Linked DNA regions of Homo sapiens: regions 1 and 3 are each linked to region 2. The links are contacts of gene promoters, found by promoter capture Hi-C in blood cells and fetal thymus (Javierre and others, 2016). All regions are on one chromosome and are shown on one strand. Each heading gives the region's core, a stretch centred on a gene start or on the middle of the fragment in contact. The rest is flanking DNA. Distances are from core to core; before and after follow the strand shown. Region 1 overlaps AGPAT3 (1-acylglycerol-3-phosphate O-acyltransferase 3). Region 2 holds the start of RRP1 (ribosomal RNA processing 1). Region 3 overlaps AGPAT3 (1-acylglycerol-3-phosphate O-acyltransferase 3).

What was found. Contacts are between HindIII fragments. The CHiCAGO score rates a contact against its expected background, and 5 or more counts as called.
Region 1: a fragment that was not itself captured here is called in contact with the fragment with the promoter of RRP1 in region 2 in 11 of 17 cell types (endothelial precursors, activated CD4 T cells, M1 macrophages and 8 more); the score reaches 13.5 in endothelial precursors.
Region 3: a fragment that was not itself captured here is called in contact with the fragment with the promoter of RRP1 in region 2 in 1 of 17 cell types (endothelial precursors); the score reaches 6.3 in endothelial precursors.

The regions. Positions count from the first base shown.
Region 1 is chr21:43,982,806-43,987,303 of GRCh38, reverse strand. It overlaps AGPAT3 (1-acylglycerol-3-phosphate O-acyltransferase 3), which reads right to left. Exons shown (of 10, transcript NM_020132.5): 10 at 1-4,498. Among named protein-coding and RNA genes, the nearest start is that of TRAPPC10, 27 kb to the left of the region's middle. RefSeq lists enhancers at 830-1,360, 3,813-4,498 and a silencer at 2,121-2,180. The HindIII fragment of the contact is 4,574 bases long and covers 429-4,498 here.
Region 2 is chr21:43,787,800-43,792,216 of GRCh38, reverse strand. It overlaps RRP1 (ribosomal RNA processing 1), which reads right to left and starts at 2,640. Exons shown (of 13, transcript NM_003683.6): 1 at 2,455-2,640; 2 at 785-867. The coding sequence starts at 2,587. RefSeq lists silencers at 78-290, 2,230-2,399, 2,610-2,839 and an enhancer at 2,470-2,579. The HindIII fragment of the contact is 31,682 bases long and covers 1-4,417 here.
Region 3 is chr21:43,948,498-43,953,434 of GRCh38, reverse strand. All of the region lies in intron 2 of AGPAT3 (1-acylglycerol-3-phosphate O-acyltransferase 3), which reads right to left. Among named protein-coding and RNA genes, the nearest start is that of TRAPPC10, 61 kb to the left of the region's middle. The HindIII fragment of the contact is 2,921 bases long and covers 754-3,674 here.

The sequences.
Region 1 (4,498 bases), core at 1,466-3,965, 200 kb before region 2:
CTTGAAAAGTGCCATCGGCAGGATGGCCTCCAAGGAAACAGAGCCCGTGGGAGTGGGCTCTGAAGGTGGGTGGCCCCATGGGACAGGAGTGCCTGGTGGCCCTGGTTTCCCCTTGGAGACATCTATGCAGACTGGAAACGAAGAAACAGAAGGAGGCACGGAGTCGCTTTCTCTTATATTGTGGATATTTTATCCCTGTCTTTCACAGCAGCAATTTTAATAAACAGATGCCTGCAGCATTTCACCACTACACAAGAGCTACTCGCGCTCGGGCAGGCGCACACCTGCCTGTGTACACAGGTCCTCGCACAGCACGGCAAACGCAGCCAGGCCTTTGGGACACAGGCCTCTGAAGTGTAAGTTAGCAGCCCTCACCCCGACAAGCTTCTAAAGACCAAAAATACCTCTATCCTCCACTACATAAAGCTTGTGAGTAGCAAAACTTGTAAAAATGAAGTGTACAAAAGGAAACATCCGTATAATACATTTGCACCCTGTATACAATGGGTCCCTTTGAAACTGGCCAACAGTCAGCGATGGCAGATTTTCAATCATAGAAAAAGAAGCCAGTGGCTGTCATGCGCACTCAGGTCAATGGTTTGTGTGGGTTCTCCAGAGAGAGAGATTTTCCTTTACAGTTACAGTACTTGCTGGCGATCTTGCTGATTAAAAGGCCAGTTGAATTTCCTGGCATTTAGGCAAGTAACATTTGATTGTCACAACGTACAATTCTGAGACAATAAATACAAGTAGATCAGATGCATTTCTTCATTGTATCAAGTAACTCCAGTTTAATGTAATACAATTTAGTGCATTTCAGTATCTCATTCACAGTTCGACTTCTGTCCAAATACTTGTGCAACAAAAAGTTAAGAAATGGAGACGAACTCCAGGTGACATTGTCATTACACAGCTTCAAATTCTAAGACAACTCAATGATCTTTGAAAAGCGTACGCTGCTGTTGCCTGGGCCGGCGACACCAATGTCCCTGGTAACTTCCTGGGCTCCCTAAAAGTGTTCCCGTCATTCTATTTCCCGAGCAGTTTGTAAGAATGCCACCATTATCCCTGAATTAACAAGCAGCCAGTGGCGAGTGTTCATGATAAAACTGAATTCATGTGTCCACCCCACTCCAGCAGATCAGTGTGACATCTTTTACGCAAAAATTGTTTTTGCATCCTGGCCCCGATAGGCAGGAATACGGAGCCGGATGTCTGCATCCCCCAGGTCGGCCCCACGGCAGGGGTATGGGGCAGAGCCAGGGCGGAGTCAGGGGTGTGGCCGGCCCCATCCCCCGAGGCCCGAGGGGGCTTGCCTTTGGTTTGGGGACTAGCTCAGTAGAGAAAGGGGCAGGCACACGGCCGGGGACGTGCTGTTTCCAGAAAGAAGGCAGGCAGGCTTTTCGGGCTGGCCGTTTGAACCCTGAGCCTAGGTGCAGTGCAAGGGCTAGAAGCACATCGCGCCGTGGAGCACTAGTATTGCACGCCAGGGGCTGCATGCAGTGAGCCACAGGCCAGAGGCCTGCAGCGGGAGTCTACGCATGGGGCTGAACAAGTCAGGTGAAAATCTGCAGGGCTGGAGAGATTATACTTGGCTTGTTGTAGAAGTGTCTCAGGTAGAGACAAAGCATGCAGAAACTTACTCATTCTTCACCCCAAATCTGACCCCAACCGGTAGTCACAACAGGCATGGACAGCCTGGCAACAGCTACTCAATTGCACGTGAGTGAAACACACAGCTGGGTCCAACCACGGCTTTTCCTTCAAATCAACATCAATGCTCAGCAATACCGCAACGAACAGCGTGAGGAAAGATTCTCATGCCACGGTGCGCGAAAGGGAGTCGGGACAGGCAAGGCAGAGAGACTCAAAATTCATCGACAGGACGTGCTTTTTTTTTTTTTTTACACAAGAAAGTGCTGCTTACATTGTTGTTTTGTGTTATTTAGTGATTTGTTCAGCGCTCATCTCTTCCACCAGACTGCGCTTCCTGAGGACAGGGACCTTAAAGCACCTCACATAGGGTGCGCGTCTGGTACACTGTCGCCGAGTACCAGACAACCAGTGTCTCACACGGGGGAAGACGATGAAGACAGCAATGGCATCCTTGGGAAGATGGGCAGGAGACCCCATGACACCTGGCACCTGGGCCTAAGCTGGGAGGCCAGCGGCGTCCCCAGGAGACCACGGCCCAGGCTGGGAGCTTGACCGGCCAGACGCCCGTGGGTGGGCCTGGGCCCTCCCGCCTGGGAGCCTCCAGTGTGGCGCCTGGCTCTGGGTGGGTAACAGGAGCTACAGGCCAGCAATGCCCTTCCTGTCCTCGGCCTGGCTCAAGGACTGGGTGCAGAGGGCATCAGCGATGCCAGGCCTAGAATGTGCCTCACCCCGACAGTGGCCAGCACGGACTGTGGGCTACAGAGTTGCTTCAGCCTGAGCACTCAGCCTGAATTTGGACATAACATCAACTGAATTAAGCTCAGAAGTAGGGTGTAAAGGAAAAAGAAAAAAAAAAGACTGTTCTGGGATTTATGAATTTAATTTAAAAAATGTAAAGGAGCTCTCCTCCCCTTTTCCTTCTGGATGAAAAGCAAAATCCACCCTCCCCCCCCCAAAAAAAAAAAATTCAAACATTCATGGTGTAGTTTTTATTGCTCTTAAAGACTTGGTGTTGAGAAGCACAAGCTAAGCTGTGAGATGGGAAGGAAACCAGATGAGGTGTGACCCCTGCGCCTGGGCCTCCGTCTCCACTCTAACCTAGGGGCTGCCCAGCTCCGCCATGGCTCAGTGCAGAATTTATACATTATATATTAATTTCAAAGGGAGGGAACTTCTATGGGAAACAATAATAATTAAATCATAAAAGATCTAAATTTGCATTTTCCAGGTCACATATGTGCATGGTCGTACCCTTCAGCTTTTTTCCTTAAAGATTTTGCAGGTGTTAGTGAGTCAGTGAATGGCATGGATCTAAACACACATGGAGACGGATGAGCAGCGTGCGGCATGAGGAAGGTGCAGGAGAATCTCTGGGGTGCTCAGCCAGGGGAGCGCATGCCCTGCCCACGGCACAGCTGCCCGAGTGGGCGGGTGGAGGGATGAGATTTCAGATGGAGGGAAGCACATTTCCAAAACAACAGTGTCTGCAAGCGTGTCTCGCATGGTGTCGTTGGTCTCATCTGGTTTCGTTGGTCTGCCCCTTCACCCCTGCGAGGAGCCGTGCTCTGAGCAGGTGTGCACAGGTGGCGTCCCGCACACGCCCTGAGAGCACGGCCCCCACAGACCCGGGGCCCGGCAGCGCCTCCATCATGCAGAACGCTGCCGTCCCCTCCAATCTCCCCAGGACACTTAGGCCCGATGCCTAATTATGTTCTCGGTTTACTTTTCTTCATGCCTCTTTTCTCCATTTGTTTTCCCCTAGAAAACTCAACCTACCTCTATTCAGAACGCTGGTTTCAAGATATCAGAGATAACACCCATTTTGGTTTTTTTACCTTGCTAAAAAGATGAGGGCGCTGTGACTTAGAACAAGCAAGTCGAAAGCCAAATGCAGGTGGGCTGATGGTACCGCAACCAAGTTGAGCGTTCTACCACTGCCATTGCCCCAGGGGCCCCACCTGGCCATGCCGGGGGAGTGGACATGCTGTAGGGAGAAGCATCCCTCGCTCGGCGTGGGCCAGGGGCTCGCTGCAAGGCCAAGGGAGCCAGCATGACCGGCCGAGCGCTGCCCTCTGCTCTGCCTGGACTCTCAGAGACGTCCAGGAGGTAGGGAGCTGGGCGCTCAGGGGTGGCCGGGCCACAGTGACACCGGCCAGGATGGGGGCGGGCCTTCCCCAAGGACACAGTGCGAGGCTGGGGGGTGGGGGGTGCCCCACCTCTAGTTTCCAGCAGGAAGTTGAAAACCACCAAGAGATCAACCAGTAAAAATAAAATCTCTAGAAGTCAATGAGCTCAGTGTTAACAGTCTCCAACCACCTTTAAAAAACAGAGGGTTGACGGTGCCGTCGCTTCTTCTGAAGCATCCTAGAGTCCCACAGGCTGCCCTGTTCTCCCTCCTTGGCTCCTGATCTGTGGGATGGGGGGGCGCGCGGTAGCCCCGAGGGTCCTCCCTCCCCAGCACCCAGTGTGGAGGGACCAGGATCTGACAGCCATGAGAGCGACAAAGGAGCTTTAGGTGCATGGAGAACTCTGCATTTCACTGAGTTCTCAGGGGCCCATCCACTTTAAAAACAGATGTACGTATTTACACACAAGGTCAGATAGGAGCTAGGACAGACAGGGCTCTAGAAAGTGAGGTGGGGCGTTCGCCCTCAGCCAGCCCCAGGACAGGGCAGAGTGAGGGCTCCGACTTCGAGGAATGGACCTGACGTTCGTGCCGGTGTGCTTATCACTACGGGCGCCCTCCACGGGGCCCCCACTGGGAGCCAAGGTGCTGAGCCGAGCGATGCTCCCGGGGGACGGGACCCGGCCGTCCACTCCCAGGAGGACAGCAGAAATTCAT
Region 2 (4,417 bases), core at 1,391-3,890:
ACATTTCACAGCCTCCCCTTGATAATTCAGTGGGCATGGAATATGGCCCAGGAACCTGAACTTAACTAAGTACCCTCACCACCCAGGAGATTTTGAAGGAGAGCACAAAATTCACAATTTGAGAAACAATGTTTGGAAAAGGCTAGCAGGAGACGTCCTTGTCTCAGGAGACTTGAATTCCGCCCCGTGGTTTCCACTATTTCAGCACTTGTTTGCAACCCAGGACAAACACAAAACCCAGTTTTCACCCATGCCAGTGCTGCTGCAGTGCACGGCTCAGTCAATCACATCAACACCTCAGCAAGTGTAAGACTCACCTAACAAAGGCCCAGGCCCACCAGCCGTGCCGAACCAAGCGTCAAGGCTATACGACCTCCCCACGGTCTCTGGCCATATTAAAACTGGGTTGACCAGGCCGGGCGCGGTGGCTCATGCCTGTAATCCCAGCACTTTGGGAGGCCGAGATGGGAGGATCACTTGAGCTCAGGAGTTCGAGACCAGCCTGACCAACATGATGAAACTCTGTCTCTACTAAAAATACAAAAAATTAGCCAGGCATGGTGGCAGGTACCTGTACTCCCAGCTACTTGGGAGGCTGAGGCAGGAAAATTGCTTGAAACCAGAAGGCTGAGGTTGCAGTAAGCCGAGATTGAGCCACTGCACTCCAGCCTGGGCAACAAGAGCGAAACTCCGACTTAAAAAAAAAAGAAAAACTGGGTTGACCAGATGCCCATCCATCCTCCCCCGCTGCTTCTGTACCTGCTCTGCTGCTCCCCCCACTCACCTGGAGGAGTGGCTTGTCCTGCATCCACATGCAATAAAACAGTCCTTTCCACACCTTCAGCAGCTCGTCGTGCGTAAAACCACCTGCATCAAAACAGCAACGGTTGGACCAAATGAATCCCACACCTTCGAGTGCCAGAAAGGAAGCCACAGAAACGTGACTGCCTGAATGAGACCAAAGTCCCACTTACGGTAAAGGCAACTGGGGGGCAGAATCTGGCCCTCCCCTTCAAACAATCCTTCTAACCCAGAACCTGCCGCGCCTGTGGCTATGCGGCTACTCCAGGTAACTGCTACTTCACGCACACAGTAAAACCGACTGAGATCTACAAGGTATCAGGCACCATACTCCATTTTGGAAATTCAAAATTGCGAACCTTGACGGTTTCCTAAGCTGGACAGTGGCCACAAGGTTAATCTGTTGGTGATAATTCATCCAGCATTATACTGAGGGCTTCTGCACTCTCCTGTAATATATCTCAAATACTAAAAGAAGAAAGTGAACTCAGGCATTCAGACTACGAGAGAAACAGAAATTACTGAGGCCAGGTGCGGTGGCTCACGCCTGTACTCCCAGCACTTTGGAATTGAGTGCTGAGGCAGGATCACTTGAGGCCAGGAGTTCAAGACCAGTCTGGGCAACATAGGAAGACCCCAATTTGTACAAAAAATACAAAACTTAGCTGGCCTGGCCGCACGGTGCCAGTAGTCCCAGCTATTGGGGAGGCTGAGATGGGAGGCTCACTTGAGCCTGGGAGGTAGAGGCTGCAGTGAGCTGTAATCGTGCCAATGCACTCCTCCACCACGGATGACAGTGAGGTCTGTCTCACTCAGAAAAATAACAAAAAATTTTAATTTAAAACATTACTCAGTTGACATTCACTGAAGTCCTATGTGTCTGGCAACCTGTTCCTGCAGCAGTGGTTCTCAGGCTGAGTGTGGGGAGCAGAAGCACTTGAACAGCTTCATAAAGCAGATGCCAGTCCTGATTTAGTAGGGCTGGGATCCTAGAACTTGCATTTCTTTCTTTTCTTTTGCGATGGAAATGGAGTCTTGCTATGTTGCCCAGGCTGGACTCCTGGGCCTTTGTGATCCTCCCACATCGACGTGCCAAGTAGCTGGGATTACAGGCTTGGGCCACTGCGCCCGGCATAGAACGTGTATTTCTAACAAATGTCCAGGGGATGCTACTGCTGATGGGGGACCACGCTCGGAGAACCACCTGGTACCATGAACAAGAAGTAGATTCTCGGCCCTCAGAGAGGTACTCTCGAGTGGAAATCGGAAAACAATCCAATAATTAACGCAAAACAGAAAACTGCAAACAGTGGGAAATGCTGCCATGAGGGAAAAATACTGGGTGCCCAAACAGCAGGGCAGCAGGAGTACATGGTCTACTGGAGGGAGGGGACGCCTGAGCTAGGAAAGGGGTTACGGGGCTGGGGAGGAGCGTTCTCGCAGAGGGACCAGAGTCACCGCACCACGAGGGAAAGCGGCGGCGGGGGCCGTGGGCCGGTAACAGCGGGAACAGGCCAGTGGACCCCGCCTGCCCGGCCCGGCCACGTGGAGGTTCCACAGGGCTCGGAGGGCCCCCAGCTCCGGCCGCCGCCGCCCACACCCGCACCAGCCCAGCCGGCCCCCGAGACGCCAGCCGCCCACACCCCCGCCAACCTGCGGCCCGCTGAGTCCTGGCGACGATGTATTTCCGGAGCTTCCTCACCGCCCGGTCCCGGGTCACCTGCTCATTCCCCGCCAGGCGCTGAGCCAGCTGGATCTCAGGCGGGAGCTGCACGCGCGAAACCATGACGCCGACGGCCGAGACCCCCTGTCCCGGAGTCGCCTGGTACCCAGCACACTGAGCACGCGCCTCCTGCGCCCGCCTCCTCCTGGCCCCGGCGCGTGGCGTGACGTCACAGCCCGCGACACCGCCCAGGCGCACGCCACCGCCGCGCAGTGGCCGAGCCGCGCAACTGCAGCCCCCGGAGGCCGAAGGCTACAGAGGGGGCGCGCGCTCCCTGCCTGTGCGCATGGGCGGAACCAGCGAGCGCGCGCCTGCGCCTGCGCCTGCGCCTCGCTGGGGCTGCGGTGGGTCGGGATTCTGAGGCAAAGATCTGTTGTTTTTTAATCTCATTTTATTTATAACCCCACTTGTATTTTTTTCCTGAGACAGGGTCTCGCTCTGTTACCCACGCTGGAGTGCAAGGCGCGATCTCGGCTCACTGCAGCCTTTGCCTCGCGGGCTCCAGGGATCCCCCAGCCTCAGCCTCCCGAGGAGCTGGGACCACGGGCGCCACCACTCTCGGCTCGAAACTTTATTTTTAAAACCAGGGGTGTGCCGGGCGCGGTGGCTCACGCCTGTAATTCCAGCACTTTGGGAGGCTGAGGCGGGTGGATCACGAGGTCAGGAGTTTGAGACCAGCCTGACCAACATGGTGAAACCCTGTCTCTACTAAAAATACAAAAATTAGCCAGGCGTAGTGGCGGGCGCTTGTAATCCCAGCTACTCAGGAGGCTGAGGCAGGAGAATTGCTTGAATCCGGGAGGCGGAGGTTGCAGTGAGTCGAGATTGCGCCGCTGCACTCCAGCCTGGGCGACAGAGTGAGACTCTGTCTCAAAAAACAACAACAAAAAAAAAAACGGGGAGGCTGCATTTGGCCTAGGGCCACAGTTTGACATACCCTGAAGTAGAAAAATATTCTTTATTTTTAGAAATAACTGCAGAACTCTTTGGTAAAGGTGACCTGTCATGATGTCTGTAATTCATTCTGCAAAAAAGTAAATCATTACACGCACATATGTGTATGCAGATAAGCAACTATGGCACACTGTTAACAGTTGTGGCGTTGGCCGGGCGCGGTGGCTCACGCCTGTAATCCCAGCACTTTGGGAGGCCGAGGCGGGCGGATCATGAGGTCAGGAGATCGAGACCATCCTGGCTAACACGGTGAAACCCCGTCTCTACTAAAAACACAAAAAATTAGCTGAGCGTGGTGGCGGGCGCCTGTAGTCCCAGCTACTCAGGAGGCTGAGGCAGGAGAATGGCGTGAACCCCGGAGGCGGAGCTTGCAGTGAGCCGAGATCGCGCCACTGCACCCCAGCCTGGGTGACAGAGTGAGACTCCGTCTCAAAAAAATACAAGTGTGGCGTCTACAGGCAGGAATACAGGTCTTCATTGACCTATCTTCTGACATTTTCTATGTATGAAATTTTTCATAAAAAGTTGAAAAGGCTGGCAGTGGTGGCTCATGCCTGTAATCCCAACCATCACTTGGGGAGGCCAAAGCAGGTGGATCACCCGAGGTCAGGAGTTCGAGACCATCCTGGCCAACATGGTGAAACCCCATCTCTACTAAAAATACAAAAATTAGCTGGGTGTGGTGGCGAGCACCTGTAATCCCAGCTACTCGGGAGGCTGAGGCAAGAGAATTGCTTGAACACAGGAGGCGGAGGTTGCAGTGAGCCAAGATCCGGCCACTGCACTCCAGCCTGGGCGACAGATTTTGAAACTCTGTCTAAAAAGAAAAAAAAAAGGAAACATTTAGCAACTGGTTTTAGAATCTGAATTAGTTCTTGTTGTTGTTGTTGTTGTTGAGACAGTTTCACTCTGTCGCCCGGGCTGGAGTGCAGTGGCACG
Region 3 (4,937 bases), core at 965-3,464, 160 kb before region 2:
GGCTACGTCACGGCACTCCCTCCATGTCCGTCCACATCTCCTACGAATCAGGACAGCCTGCTCACTAGGACACCATGAGCACACCCAAGAAATGAATACCGACAGAATACTGCCGAACATCCCGTCCCTGTTTCCATTTCACCAACTGTCCCCAGATGACCTTCCTAGCTGCGGGGATGCAGGGCCCCGTGGAGGACACACATGCATTTGGATGGCACGTCTCTCTGTCCCCTTTCCCCGAGACGCTCCCCGCCTACTCTGGCCTGATGGTGTTGAAGCGGCTAAGGCAGCTCTCTGCGGCGTGCCCCACACCCTGGATTTGTCCGTTTCCTCACAATTAACTCGGGTTCAACATTTCTGGTCAAGAATGCATGGCAGAGCCGCTGGGTACTTCCTGCCACATCCCACTGGAGGCCCATAAAGCCACTTGGCCGGCGATGTGGAACCTCGCCTCACTTGGTTATGGTGGCACCACTGACACCCTGACCGCAGCAGATAGCCTGGGCAGCCCCCAGCACCCTGGGGACCTTGGAGAACGCCTGGGATAGAAGAGCCACACAGGGTGGGACCTCAGGGGTGGGACCTCTGGGGCTCCATCTGATTTCTGGGGCTGGGGCTGGGAGGTGTGACAGTGGGCCTCTCCAGTCCCCATGGCACCTTTTCATGGCTGCTCAGATGCCACCGAGACACTGAGGACACTGAGTTGCTTCTGAGCCCCTTCATTAAACAACAGGTTTAGGTCGCCCAGAAGCTTGGTGCCAGCGCGTCTTCATTAAACAACAGATTTAGGTTGCCCGGAAGCCTGGCGCCAGCACATCTTGGTCCTGGGGCGTGATGGCTGCTTCTTGGGTTTTGTCCTGGCCCCTGCACAAGCTACCGGGGTGTGCACCTTCTTAGATCAGGGGAGCAAAGGTGAGGCACGAGGCTGCCTCTGCCTGGGCAGGGCCAGAGCACTGCTTGCCAATCAGAGCCCAGCCCCACACGCCCACACCCAATTCTGCCACCTTTTGTTAGGGTGAACTGAGTTCCTTCCACAAAGGTAATGCCCAGGTCCTCGAAATGTGACCTTATTTGGAGACAGGGCCTTTAACACAGTAATTAAGTTAAATGATATCATCAGGGTGGGCGCTGATTCCATCTGACCGGTGTCCTTATGAAAAAGGGAGACCGCCTGCAGTCAGAGCCCGGGTGAGAAGCCTCAGAAGGAATCCTTGACCTTGGACCTGCAGCCTCCAGGACCACAGGACGACAAAAGCCTGCAGCTGCAGCCCCGCCTCTGGTGCCGTCACACAGCCCAATCGCACTCACAGGCCGCCTCATCCCAGGTCCGTAGTTCTGGAGAGGTACGGGCCCATCCCCGTGTTCCGCCATCCAGCCCACCCCCTGCCTGCCCCAGGTCCTTCGCTGCAGCATGTGGACCCTCCTCCCCGTCGCTGGTCCCTGTGACCCTCTTCCTCCAAAACCGGCCAGGCAGAGGATCTCACCCACATGCAGTCTCCCCAGAGACCCCCCTTCTTTGCCAAAATCCCCAACCTTTCCGAAGACGCCTTTTTATGGAATGGAAACTACAGTTCCGAGCCCACCACCTCCGCACCGCTGCCAGGCCCACCAGGCCCCTCCATTTCTTCCTTCTGAACAGAGGAGTCCCTGGTTTTCTCTGCACACATAGGACGGCAACTTCGTTTCTATGAGGGGTAAACACCAGTTTGTCTATCCATGAGCCTTTCATGCCTCTGTCACCAGCGCTGAAATCCCCCAGAGGAGATGGCACAGCCTCTGAAATATAGCACTATCTTCCCAAAACGCCACAGAGTGCCCACCCCAGCTGGCGTCCTGCTCTGTGCAGGGGCAGGAGCTGGGCAGAGCTGGGATGGGACCTGCTGTCCTTGGGTCCTGGGGTCCAGGAAGAAGATGTCACCACTGGCAACTATTCTGGGATCAGCAGATGCTCCCAAACCCTGGAATTCTCCCTTTGCCCTGCCCAAGCCGCCCTTCCGAGAGCAAGGCTAGCTCTCAGCAGACAGCAGTTGGCGGAGGAGAAAGACATTTCAGGATGCCAAAAGCACATCATTTCTGATGCTCTAGACAGGAGTTTTGAGTTGTGGGATAAAGATAACTTCTTAGTTCCATATGGATTTCAGTGATCCAAATCCAAGTCCATAATGGGGAACTGAGAAACGGCTGTCAGCTCCCTCCTTCCCCCCTTCCTCTTCTCTGTCCCGCCCACCCCGCACCCAAGGGCTCTGGTGTAGTGGGCCGAGCAGACCTGGCCCCTGCGAGGTGGTGGCACGGGAGGGCCTTGTGTGCTGGCTGCACAGGAGGGGACCACGGTGAGCCCCGGGCTCTTGGGTGCTGGGGAAAGCTCCACTGTTACTGTCAGCAGACGCTGGAGGAGAAAGTCCACCATCAGGAACAGTAGAGACGCAGTGATATCTCAAAGGGTCTTCATTTAGGTGGCAACGTTTACTATTCAGAACACCGCCAAGAACCCGGAAATAAACTGCACACACTTTCTGAGAAGCCAGCCTAGGTGTCCCATAAGGAAAAAGACTTCACTCACAGTGGACCTTTCGGGCCCTGCATTGGGTCCTCCTTCCTCCCGCTTTAAACGCAGCGTGGACAAGTGTGACGGGCTGGTTTCCTGGCCCACAGCTCATTGGAAGTGCGGGCTGGGGAACAGGGAAGAGGGGCTTGCAGAAGGCAGGCATGCCGCTGACAGCACTACCTGGGGCAGAAACGAGCCCAGGACTTGAGGCCCCTTGGAGGCCACTGAGCAGCGGGGGCGCGGTTGCAGGCTCTCTGACATCACGCATGAGGGCACAATGCGGTGACTGTGGCCCACGCTGATCTCGTCCGAATGCTGAGAGAGGGCGGCGTCACAGTTACCACATTATCTGAGAAGTCTGGTAAGCAGCGAAGATACTACTAAGCATTCAACTAAAATTTTAGATGAAACAAACACAATCCTATTTTGAGGTTTAAAGGGCAAATTTCAGTTCTTGGGTAAATTCACTTACAGAGACCACCTTACCTCTTCATAAGCCTGAAAAATATGAAATTGTTGCCAGCCCAACCTTATCAGCATTTGGAATTAGCAGGAGACTAAAAGTCTGGCAGGAGGAGGTGAAACTGTCAGTCTGTGCAGACGATTGTGTAGCCTCAATACCCAGGAGAATCCAAATCTACTACAACAGGAACTAGAGTTGATAGTGATGCTAACAGGAATAATGTACAACATGCAGACTGCAGTGGCCTCCGAATCAGTCAGAAGAGACCAAGACAATCACAGAGTTTATCTCTTGCTCTCTTAATGGCTCTAGGTCACTGGCAGCTCTGTCCCACATGGTCATCTGGGCCCAGGCTCTGGGGGCTCCACCACCTTCAACACGAGGCTTCCAAGACTGCCTGGCTGGTGCCTTTCAGGCAGGTGGGAGAGGGGGAAACTGGAAGTTTAGGGGAAGGGCTGTCCTCTACGGCAAGTAGGATGCAAGTTTGCAGCCCAGCGCAAGTGCTTACAGCTTGGGAGGATATGGATATATGATCCCCTTGTGTGTTCAGGAGCCAAGGAGAGGGGCCCAGCAGACCACCCCTCCACAGGAACACACAAAAGCAGAAGGTGTCTTGAAGGAGAGCGCAGATTGCAATAAGAAAGAGAAAATACCTAAACAAAAGCTTCAGAGGAAATAAAGCCTCTATGAGGAAACCACAGAACATCTTGAAAGATACAAAAGCAGAGCTGAACAAATGGAAAAACCCCGTGTGACCAGGCTGCAACCACCCCTTCCCTGAACACATGCCCTTAGTAACGTGCAGCTCCTCCTGCCAAGACATGGAGTCTACTCCCCACCCTTTTGAACCCAGGTTGACTTCAGGGCTCACCCTATCAATAGAATGTGGTGGGATTGGTGTCACAGGACTTCCAAGACAGTCTTTAGAGCGTTGCCACTCCCTTACACCCTTGTGGCCATCAGAGGTGGTGGCTTGGGCTAGTCTGACAGAAGGTGGTCCCACATGGAGCAGAAATGGACCAGAAATGGGCCATTCCACCTGAGGTTCTCCAGGCAGCTCTAGCTGACGACAGCCACTCCAATGACCCCAGGGGAAACCAGCAGAAGAACCATGTTGCTGAGCCCAACCCAAATTGCTGACCCACAGAATTGAGGGCCCCCCGACATGATGGTTGTTTTAAATTGATACATTTTGAGGTGGTTTGTTAGATAGTAATATGTAAATGATACATAAACCTAAATATATAACTGAATCCTAATTAAAATAGCAAAAGCTCCCCCCCAGCCCCAGAACTAGACATACTGATTCTATAGTTCATATGGAAAACTAAACAGGGAAGAAAAGCCAGGAAAATCATGAAAAAGAACAAGAAAATAGCCCTAAAATACACTACAACATCTAGAAAGCCTCAATAATTAAAACAGCACAGTACCGGCTTATCAGTAGACATGCAGACCAACAATTGAGACTAAAGAGTCAATGCTTCACTGACTAGGAGCAGCTGTCTGGGGCACCTCAGCACCTGGAGCAGGGTGTGGATCTGCAGCCACTGTTTGGGGACTTGGATCCCATGTGCATGAAGCACTGACTACACGTTCGTCAACAACACACATCTCACATGATCCATTCCATTTCTATTGTATTTATATTTCTATTGTATTTAGATACTGATAAAATAAATAAAATACAAAATTAAAACCGCTGCTAGGTTCATGAGAATCTTTTAGCATTGCCTGTTTTCTCAACCAATGGATTTAAAGGCATAATTATATGACATACCTAAAACCACTCCTCCAATTCCGGATAACAGAACCCCGCCTTTTGCAACATGCAAGTCACTGTGAGTTACCTACCTGCCACTACCCCCTTTGCTGGTAACAGAACCTCCTGCTATTATGGCAGCGCTCACCCTTGGATATGGGAGGGAA